4 separate regions of the Homo sapiens genome follow, and all the other regions are linked to region 3. The links are contacts of gene promoters, found by promoter capture Hi-C in human tissues and cell types (Jung and others, 2019). All regions are on one chromosome and are shown on one strand. The core of a region is centred on a gene start or on the middle of the fragment in contact, and the rest is flanking DNA. Distances in the headings are between cores, read along the strand shown.

The links. The method cuts DNA at HindIII sites, captures the fragments that hold promoters and counts their contacts. A contact is called where the count stands out against the background at its distance.
Region 1: a contact is called between a fragment that was not itself captured here and the fragment with the promoter of POLB in region 3, in 5 of the 25 tissues and cell types used here (adrenal gland, mesenchymal stem cells, neural progenitor cells and 2 more).
Region 2: a fragment that was not itself captured here is called in contact with the fragment with the promoter of POLB in region 3 in 2 of the 25 tissues and cell types used here (IMR-90 fibroblasts and neural progenitor cells).
Region 4: a fragment that was not itself captured here is called in contact with the fragment with the promoter of POLB in region 3 in 3 of the 25 tissues and cell types used here (adrenal gland, aorta and mesenchymal stem cells).

What each region holds. Positions count from the first base shown.
Region 1 is chr8:42,220,057-42,222,810 of GRCh38, forward strand. No RefSeq gene overlaps it. Among named protein-coding and RNA genes, the nearest start is that of PLAT, 14 kb to the left of the region's middle. The HindIII fragment of the contact is 9,124 bases long and covers 1-2,754 here.
Region 2 is chr8:42,238,323-42,241,022 of GRCh38, forward strand. It overlaps a transcript of IKBKB-DT not described here. Among named protein-coding and RNA genes, the nearest start is that of IKBKB-DT, 32 kb to the right of the region's middle. The HindIII fragment of the contact is 4,316 bases long and covers 1-2,700 here.
Region 3 is chr8:42,337,086-42,339,785 of GRCh38, forward strand. It overlaps POLB (DNA polymerase beta), which reads left to right and starts at 1,409. Exons shown (of 14, transcript NM_002690.3): 1 at 1,409-1,600; 2 at 1,927-1,984. The coding sequence starts at 1,540. The HindIII fragment of the contact is 25,945 bases long and covers 1-2,700 here.
Region 4 is chr8:42,256,137-42,258,836 of GRCh38, forward strand. The region is part of intron 3 of IKBKB-DT (IKBKB divergent transcript); the gene reads right to left. Among named protein-coding and RNA genes, the nearest start is that of IKBKB-DT, 14 kb to the right of the region's middle. The HindIII fragment of the contact is 5,944 bases long and covers 1-2,700 here.

The sequences.
Region 1 (2,754 bases), core at 92-2,591, 120 kb before region 3:
TAGGGAGAGGCGCAGTGGCTCACTCCTGTAATCCCAGCACTTTGAGAGAGTGAGGCAGGAGGATTGCTTAAACTCAGGAGTTTGAAGCCAGACTGGGCAACATAGGTAGATCCCATCTCTACAAAAAAAAAAAAAAAGTCCCAACCAATTTAATGTCATCATCACTTCCTGAGAAACTGATTTGATCATTTGTCAAGATCTGACATTTACAAAATCTGACTGTATAACACTTCCTCGAACAGAACTTCTGCCAGGTTTCCCTGCTGTTCTCCTGTCCCCAGAGTCTTCTCTCTGGTTCTGCGGCATCCTGGGGGCCATCCTCAGGAGCACTGTGCCAGGAGGGAACCTCTCCTGATGGAGCTTTTCCTGATCCAGAGAGGCTGCTTTACATCACAGTTTCACTCTGGTCTACTTACTAGGATCCAGGAAGCCTTGACTCCATCAAACAGACCCTATACCTCTAATTCAAGCCACAGGAGGGGCCCTCACTCCCCTAGGAATGAGAAAGACAAAGAAGAAAACACACGCATGTGATTACGTGCTCAGCCTTCTCCTCCTCAGTGCTGGGTTCTGCTAGGCCAGGCAGCATGCTGCAGAAGCTAGTGACATTTGTTCTTGGCCCTCAGAACAAATGTCTCAGAAGTCTAGGGAGAGGAGACAAGGAAGTACTAGAGCTGGCAGCTGGAAATACTTTTCTGGGAAGGGCTGGGTGGTGAATAGTGCAGGCTTTACAGGCAGCGTGGTCTCTGTTGTAACTATACAGTTGTGCCCTTGCAACGTGAAAACAGCCAGGGACCCTATGCAATGAGTGTGGCTATGTTCTAATAAAATGTTATTTCTAGGCCAGACGCAGTGGCTCACGCCTGTAATCCCAGCTCTTTGGGAGGCTGAGGTGGGTGGATCACTTGAGGTCAGAAGTTGGAGACCAGCCTGGCCAACATGGTGAAACCCCATCTCTACTAAAAATGCAAAAATTTGCCGGGAGTGTTGGCACGTGCCTGTAATCCCAGCTACGCAGGAGGCTGAAGCAGGAGAATCACTTAAACCCAGGAGGCAGAGGTTACAGTTAGCTGAGATCGCACCACTGCACTCCAGCCTGGGTGACAGAGTGAGACTCCGTCTCAAAAAAAAAAAAAAAGTTATTTACAAAATCAGATGGTGATTTGGATTTGGTCCGTAGGCTGTTGTTTGCCACCTTACACTAGAGAGGAGACACAAGACAGAAGAAGCACCTGGTATGGGACAGCTCAAAGGAGGCACTGGTCGCTTTCTCTGAGCAGGGGGTTGGAATGGGACAGGCTTCGTGGGACAGGCATTGCTGTGCAGAGCTGAATAAGGGAAGTAGGCATTTGCCAAGCGAGCTGGGGCGAAGGGCACTGCTGGAAAGAGAGGCATAGGTGGGAGCCCAAGCCCTGAAGCATGGCACCATTGGGGCCTTGGCAGTCTCAGCCCATCAGTGTGGCTGGAGACGAGGGAGGTGAGAGCCAGAGATGAAGCTAGACAGGGAGGCGGGGCCAGCTCCGAGAGGCACTGTGAGCCATGCTAAGGGCTTTGGTCCTTATCCTCAGGGCAGGGAGAATAGGAACTAAAGGAGCCTCTGGGTTTCATCACTGTTCCAGATAGTTTGCATAAATGATTAATGATCTCATTCATTCTCACGAAATTCGATGAGGTGGGTGTTACACATCCCATTTTGCGACAGCAACACTAGCTCAATGTTCACTGCTTCCCCTAAGTGGCAGAGTCCCATCCAACCCGGATCCTCCAGGAGCTGGACCCCTGCTCTCTCCACAGTGCAGCCTCTAACGGAGCGTGAGACCCAGGATGATTTTCCTCCCTTGCCCTATCGCCAGAAACCACCCCCCTCCTCACCCCACTAGCAGGAAGGGTTCAGAGAATGCCACGATTTCCCAGAGTTGGACCCTGGAACCTGGGGTGGTACAGGGTGGGGACCTCAAGGCGTTGGCCACTCACCCCGGGAAGCTGCCTGGGGATGCAAAAGCCTGGCTCCCTTGGGGAGAAGGGAGTGGAGTGTTTGTCTGCTCCGCTCTCTTCATCCTGGCTGAGACCCACCTGGAGCCCACCCAAGGGGTCGTGGCTCCGCTGCTCTGTGACTGAGGTCACCAGGCGAGAGGAATTCCAGAGATTCCTGCTGAGGCATCAGCCCCAGCTCATCTCCTCTCTGCACCCAGTTTACTTGGTTGCTTAGTTGCAGAATATTTTGGTTCTTTTCGTTCCACCCTCTGAAAGTTGGAGCAGTTTGCAAGAATAGGTCTCTTTTCCTCTGTCATATGTGTCAGGCATTTGGGGAATCCTCACCAAATATCTGCTGAGTTAAACAATTAATACTGAAGTGCATCATTTGTACAAATGCCTTTTATTTACTCCTTCACATTTACTCCACACCAAGCAAGACCTGCCACCATTTTACAGAGATTTGTCCTCAAAGAAGTCTGGCTAAGCCAAGTGCGGTGGCTCATACCTGTAATCCAGGCACTTTGGGAGGCCGAAGTAGGTGGATCACCTGAGGTGAGGAGTGTGAGACCAGCCTGGCCAATATGGCGAAACCCTGTCTTTACTAAAAATACAAAATTAGCCAGGCATAGTGGCAGGTGCCTGTAATCCCAGCTATCAGGAGGCTGAGGCAGGAGAATCACTTGAGCCCAGAAGGTGGATGTTGCAGTAAGCCGAGATTGCACCACTGCACTCCAGCGTGGGTAACAGACTGAGACTCTATATATATATTTTAAAAAA
Region 2 (2,700 bases), core at 49-2,548, 99 kb before region 3:
TGACTGTCCTCACTCATTCCTGAGTGTAAGCCAAGCTAGCCACAGGAGGAATTTAGTTTACACTTTAACTTTGAAGCAAGGATGATAATAGCCCCTCCATAAAACTGACCCCCTCCTTGTTCAGGGACTGAAAGAGCCTTTGAAAGACTAATGAAAGTCCACAAGATGAGGATGATGGGAGGGGCCCAAATTTTGCTAAGATGCAGGTGTAGTTAAATGATAACCAGCCATGGTTCCTTAGGTGGCTTTCCTATAATCCTTTACTGGTTAGGAGTCACGGAGCCAGAGGTCGTTGAGATTTGTGACTTCCCCAATCACTTCTATAGATAACATCCTTGTTGTAGAACCTAAGATTGGTGTTTTGTGATGTTTTTCAGGCTTTTTAATTCTGGGACCAACTGACTCCACCTGGACCCAAGGGTCATGACTCACCCAGTCCTGTGGCCACCATCCAGAGACTTACTTAGCACGAGGGCTCTTTTTCACACCCCTGTGATTTCATCCCCTACCAATCATCAGCACCCATTCCCTAGCCCCTGCTTGCTAAATTATCCATAAAATCCCTAGCCTCTGAATTCTTCAGGAGACTTATTTGAGTAATAAACTCCCATCCTTTTGCTTGGCGAGCTTTGAATTAATTAAACTCTTTCTCTACTGCAACACTGCTGTCTCTGTGAATTGGTTTTTTCTGTGCAGCACACAAGAAGAATCCATCTGGTGATTACACCTGGACCTGTACCCCCATCTGGCTGTGATGAGGTAGCTCCTCCTCCCCTGTCAGAGTGGTATCAGAGGAAGCAAGCTAAAACACATGCTTTAAGTAAGATCCAGAGACTCATAGTCTAATGCCCCAAAAGTCCATGGATCAATCAAAAAACACTCATCACAGTTCCTTTGGCTGGAGGCTTTATGTCAGCAGCCACAGCTACGGGGCCTCTCCTGTGAGCCTGGGGTGACCATCCTCGAAGCCCAACAGCATGGCCCTCATCCCGCTTCCCATCTCCTTCTCGCTCCCTTTAGCCGCCCTCTGGGCCACTGCGTCTGCCATTCCTCAGGTGGCCTGGCCCGACCTGCTTGGCCCCCATCCCCTCCGGTGGGTATCTCTCCCCACCAGCTCAGCCTAATTTAAAGTGTTTTTAAATTGGACCTCCTTTATATTGTATTTAGAATTAGCATCCAAAATTGACAAATTACCAATTTGAGGCCCAACAACAGTGTATTTGTTTCTCCAAAACAAATACTTTCTTTTGAATGGTTTCAAATGAGCCAACCAATTTTTGTAAAAGGCAATTTATATATATATATATATATATTTATTTATTTATTCATTTTTTTTTTTTGAGATGGAGTTTTGCTCTTCTTGCCGAGGCTAGAGTGCAATGGCACGATCTTGGCTCACTGTAACCTCTGCCTCACAGGTTCAAGTGATTCTCCTGCCTCAGCCTCCCAAATAGCTGGGAGTACAGGCACCACCCACAGCTAATTTTTGTATTTGTAGTAGAAAGGAGGTTTTGCCATGTTGGCCAGGCTGGTCTCGAACTCCTGACCTTAGGTGATCCACCTGGCTCAGCCTCCCAAAGTGTTGGGATTATAGGCATGAGCCACCGTGCCTGGCCGTAAAAGGCAATTTTTTAAAACTATAAATACAAGATTGTAAACTGAATGATGATATGTCTTCCAGGAAAAATCTTTTTGAATTTCTGTTTTCCTTTATAACAAACTGATTTTTACATTCCCAAGTCATTTGCACGTTAACAGAATACTTAAATTTGCTTGTTCTGTACATAAACTATGATACAGCCTCTAGACATAAGAAAATTTGAAAAATTAAAGATGGTTGCACAAGATGCTTTCATAATCAAGCATGTGACACCAGATGGCAATTTGTTAGCCAAATGCTGTTTTTTTTTTTTTTGAGGAATCACTTTGGTTTTTTTGTTCCCCTGTTAGTTACAACTTTATTAGAAGTGTTAATTCTAAGCCTGTCTCTTAAGTTTATTTAGAAACAGCAAGTAATTGGGGCCAGGCACAGTGGCTCACACCTGCAATCCCAGCACTTTGGGAGGCCGAGGCGGGCAGATCACGAGGTCAGGAGATCGAGACCATCCTGGCTAACACAGTGAAACCCTGTCTCTACTAAAAATCCAAAAACATTAGCCGGGCATGGTGGTGGACGCCTGTAGTCCCAGCTATTTGGGAGGCTGAGGCAGGAGAATGGTGTGAACCCGGGAGGTAGAGTTTGCAGTGAGCCAAGATCATTCCACTGCACTCCAGCCTGAGCGACAGAGCAAGACTCAGTCTCAAAAAAAAAAAAAAAAAAAAAAAAAAGAGCAAGTAATCTATATTGCCACACACCTTGAAAACAGAATGTGGGCCAGACACTGTGGCTCATGCCTGTAATCCCAGCACTTTGAGAGGCCGAGGTGGGTGGATCACAAGGTCAGGAGTTCGAGGTCAGCCTGGCCAATATGGTGAAACCCAATCTCTACTAAAAATACAAACATTAGCCAGGCATGGTGGCACACACCTTTACTCCCAGCTACCTGGGAGGCTGAGGCAGAAGAATCGCTTGAGCCCTGGAAGCAGAGGTTGCTGTGAGCTGAGATTGCGCCATTGCACTCCAGCCTGGGCAACATAGCAAGACTCCGTCTCAAAAAAAAAATGTGGTACATTTAGGACACCGACAAAATGAATTTTTTC
Region 3 (2,700 bases), core at 159-2,658:
CCTGGAATAGAGATTGGACAGAAAAAAGTGTGAACAGGGAAAACTAGGACAAGTCATATATGTAAATGAGAGTATAAAGAGTAAATGAGAGTGGTCACTGCTCACTGCAGCTTAACTAATCAGATAGTTAAGTTGCAGGCATAAAGTTTTTTTAACTTTTATTCCTCAAGTAATAAATTGAGGAAAATACAAATATGTACAAAATTTTTACAAAAGCTATCCATAAAAGGGCAAGTAGTAATATATAGAAAAGATCTACCAGATTAGTAACAAACTACCCCCATTAGGAAAATGGTAAATGATATGAATAGGAAATTCAAAAAAAGAAGAATTACAGATTTCCAATAAGCATAACTTAAGATATACACTGATATTGTAAGGAAACACAATCACCACAACCTTGCTAATCAAAGAAACTAATGATATTTATTGGAAAATAATGGGAATTTTTAATAGACTGGGTTAGAAGACTAGAAGTGTACGTCCCAAAATATTAATAGTTCAGCTGTAGGGTGAGATCACTGATTTTAATTTTCTCCTTTTATACATTTTTCCAGATTTCTCTACAGCAACTACGTATCATTTTGTAATAAATTTTAATTTTTCGATGCACAAAGCAATTGCCTGGAATTGCAGTTCGATATGAACCCAGGAGTTACGCTTGTAAAATAAACTATTGCTGATGTGACATTTCCATTTCTCAAGCAGACTGTAAATTTCTCAGATGTAGGTCATCATGTTATAATTAGGGTTCCATTGCTCATGATCTAGATGAAACACTTCTCCCTTTCTTGTGGTCTCTTCATTAATTTGGTCCCTACCGCAAAGGCAGGGGGATTAAAAATAAAATATCTTTTGACACTGGTTGGCAGGTGTACTAACACGTGTGCGGGAGGATTCCTGTTCTCGGCATGGTTCACGCCGGGCTCCGGCAGCGCCCTAGTACGTAAGGGGCTGCACTGGAGTGTGGACTGCCCGGTATCCTTAGAGAAAGTTTTGACAGTGTGACGCCAGTGTCGCCTCTAACCACGTACAAAACGCGCCATGCATTGGGTAGCTATTACAGTGCACATTTTTGTGCAGGAAGCTACCCCACCAGCGCAAGTATTTCAGAATCAAGATCGCACTCCCGTTTCCCCTTCTAGGGAAAGGATTCCAGATAAACACTGAGAAAACAGATTTAATATCTTAGGTCAAAACTCCAGGTCTTCCCATAGGAAGGCCCCTGGGCTGTCATTCTGAGGTGCCTATTTCCCCCGCGCCGTGTCCACGTCCACGAGTCCACGAACCCTCCGAGTTCTCTCTCCTCACCTGCCGAGGGCTCGCCCCTCTAGCCCCGCCCCGCCCCGCCCAGGACGCGTGACGTCACAACAAGCGCCGTGCGCCCCGCCCCCCATCGGGGGCAACCATTGTTCCGCCGGTCGCGCCGGAGCTGGGTTGCTCCTGCTCCCGTCTCCAAGTCCTGGTACCTCCTTCAAGCTGGGAGAGGGCTCTAGTCCCTGGTTCTGAACACTCTGGGGTTCTCGGGTGCAGGCCGCCATGAGCAAACGGAAGGCGCCGCAGGAGACTCTCAACGGGGGAATCACCGACATGCTCACAGGTTAGCACCGGGCCGGGCCCCGCTGGCTTTCTTCTTTCCTTCCAGCCTCTTCCCCTGCCTTCCTTCTCTCCCACACCGACAGTCCAGTGGGTAGGGTAGGTTCCTTGCAGCGGGTCGTCTTCCGTGGGGATCTCCCTCCGGCGCCCCTGGCTGGTTGTCAGTCCTGCCGGCTACACCTGGGCCATCGCTTGGGCTGCTTTTGGTCTGGCCCTTGGAGGAAACGGGTGGTCACTGTCTCTTAGAGGCTGCCATATCCCCTTCCAGAAAACAGTTCTCGTTTGTTTACTCGTGGTTCTTGTTCACCCGAGCCTTCTGTTGCCTTTCAGAACTCGCAAACTTTGAGAAGAACGTGAGCCAAGCTATCCACAAGTACAATGCTTACAGGTGGGACAGTGCAGCATTCTCGGGTAGCATACGTTCTGGGATACCCTGTTTAGTGTGGCAATTAACAGGACTGAGGGCCCAGTGGATATTTGGTCCATCTGCAAGAGCGGGAAAAAGCAAGAATCGAGGCTGGTACCTTACTATTTCTTGAAGAATGTGGGCAGTGCGTTATAGGATCAGTTCAGATAAGTTCCCAATTCTGATTGCAGATAGCTGTAGCCTGATACGTATTTTGTCATCATCAAACATGAATTACTAGAAATGCGGTGTAATTTTAACCGTAATGAAAGACAGCGGATGAAGTCCATACTGTGAAATATATGTGGTTCAAGGAATCACATTTTTTCTTTTGGTTGGTCTAAAGTTGATCCTGTGGGATCCTGATCCTGATCCTTGTTCCTTGTTCATGGGATCCTGTCCTTGTTCATCTCACCAGGGGCCTTATCCTATTCATTCTTTCCACATCCACCTGCTTCTACTCCTTAGCCTATATTTATTTATTTATTTATTTTTATTTGAGACGGGGTCTCGCTGTGGTATGATCATGGCTCATTGCAGCTTCAACCTTCCAGCCTCAAGTGATCTTCCCATCTCAGCCTCCTGAGTGGCTGGGACTACTACAGGCGCACGCCACCACACCCAGCTAATTTTTTTTTCTTTCTTTTTTTTTCTTTTTTTTTTTGTAGAGACCGGGTTTTGCTATGTTGCCCAGGCTG
Region 4 (2,700 bases), core at 45-2,544, 81 kb before region 3:
AAAGGATAAATGTTTCAATTCTGTTTACGAAGGTATAATTTACCTGATTGCTGTAAATTTTAGTTAGCTTAAGAAAAAAAGAGAAAAGCCATTAAAGACCCAGAAATGTCCTAAAACAAGAAGTCATAAGAATTATAATCATCAGTCGGGCGTGGTGGCTCATGCCTGTAATCCCAGCAGTTTGGGAGGCTGAGGCAGGTGGATAGCCTGAGGTGAGAAGTTTGAGACCAGCCTGGCCAACATAGTGAAACCCCGTTTCTACCAAAAATACAAAAAAAAAAAAAAAATAGCTGTGGGTGGTGGCATGCGCCTGTAATCCAAGCTACTCAAGTGGCTGAGGCAGGAGAATCACTTGAACCCGAGAGGCAGAGGTGGCAGTGAGCCAAGATTGTGCCATTGCACTCCAACCTGGGCAACAAGAGCAAAACTCCATCTCAAAAAAAATAATAATAATTAAAAATAATTTAAATCATCTTCATTGGGTCATCTAGTCTGATGTAATTAATTCTTGTTCTGCTTGATCTTTGGTTAGCAATTTCATGAATGAGTCAGTTTTTCCATTAGTGTTCTGGAAGTTGAACGGTATGATCTTAAAGTCATCAGGAACGTGTACTTGTCCGTTTTCTCCATGAATCTCCTTAAATACAAATGCACTTTCTTGAGGTTCCTGGGCCTACCAGGAAATGACTTTTCTTACTCATCAGCACAGCAGCCATGCAAAGAAACCACATAAGCATGGTGGTTCATATTATAGTTGTTTGCAAAAGCTTTTAGGAATGCATCAAAATAAAACAATTAACTGTCTGTGGATGACAAAAGACTTCAAATGGTCATGGTTAAAGGATGAGAATTAATTGTAATACAATTGAGAAAAAAATTCAGTTACTTCTGTCACATACATTTTAAGATAATAACTAGAATTATAACTGACAACATTATAACTTCATGCAATTTCTGGAACACATAAATACATACAAATATGACATAAAGAAGCTTTAGTATCACTTCTTTTTTAACAATGCTTCCCATGTAATTTAACGTACCAAATTAATTTAACAAGTTTGTTTTTATAAGAAGAAAGACAAGGCCGGGTGCAGTGGCTTATGCCTATAATCCCAGCACTTTGGGAGGCCGAGGCAGGCGGATCACGAGGTCAACCAATTGAGACCATCTTGGCCAACATGGTGAAACCCCATCTCTACTAAAAATACAAAAATTAGCTGGGTGTGGTGGCACGCGCCTGTAGTCCCAGCTACTTGGGAGGCTGAGGCAGGAGAATCTCTTGAACCCGGAGGTGGAGGTTACAGTGAGCCAAGATCGCGCCACTGCACTCCAGCCTGGCAACAGAGCGAGACTCCATCTCAAAAAAAAAAAATTAATAATAAATAAAAAAGAAGAAAGACAAGTCCTTTGTGACTTTTTAGGGGCCTTCAGGAAAATTCCAAAGTTAGCTCAAGGTCAAAAACACTTCATGTAGAGTTTGATTTTTCAAAGTTGTCAAAAATGCCAAAAGACGGCTGGGCTCAGTGGCTCATGCCTATAATCCCAGCACTTTGGGAGGCCAAGGCAGGAGGATCACTTGAGCCCACGAGTTCGACATCAGCCTGGGCAGCATAGGAGGAGACCTTATCTCTAAAAAAAAATTTTCAAAGGACAATTTTTTTTTTAAAAGTCAAAAGACTAAATTTTTTGATTAAACAGGATCACAGATCACTGTAAAACATTACTCAGTTATCCATTTAACCAAAGCGCTGGAAGATTTCAGAGGTAATTACAGAAAGGTATACAGTTTTCTTTTTTTTTTTTTTAGCTTAGCTCTTTTAACAGAGAAGACTGAGTCTTCTTAAGTAATCAAACACCTGAAAAAGACAACATGAAACACAGGAAATTATTCTGATAAGACGCAGATTTTTTTCCACCTCAGCAAATTCTAGATTTCCTACACAGATTACATAGACGGTAAAGAAAAACGTTCCACAGTATTTTATCAAGAGAAGTCCAATACTCCAATAAAACTTTGTAATTTTAAGAAAGAAGATGAAACTCTAGTTTTAGATTGTACTTTTGATATTAAGGCTCATTTTTGAGATCCTTATAATAAATTGATTCAATTTTAGCCAACTTAATCACACAAGATTCTCTCTCTCTAACTTTCTAAATCTATTCAGGGTTTTTTTTGTTTTATTTTTGTTTTGAGACAGTCTTGCTATGTTGCCCCAGCTGGTCTTGAACTCCTGGGCTCAAGCAATACTCTTGCCTTGGCCTCTTGAGTAGCTGGGACTACAGGCATGTGCCACCATGCCTAGCTCCATTCAGTTTTTGTCTTTCTTTCTTTTTTTTTTTTTTGAGACGGAGTCTCACTCTGTCGCCCAGGCTGGATGGAGTGCAGTGGCGCGATCTCTGCTCACTGCAACCTCCGCCTCCTGGATTCACGCCATTCTCCTGCCTCAGCCTCCCGAGTAGCTGGGACTACAGGCGCCCACCATCATGCCCGGCTAATTTTTTGTATTTTTAATAGAGACAGGGTTTCACCATGTTAGCCAGGATGGTCTAGATCTCCTGACCTGGTGATCCGCCCGCCTCGGCCTCCCAAAGTGCTGGAATTACAGACTTGAGCCACCGCGCCCAGCTGCTTCATACCTTGTCTTACAGAAATCCCGTATCCTATTTTCCTTGCATACAAGTTTTGTTCTTTACACT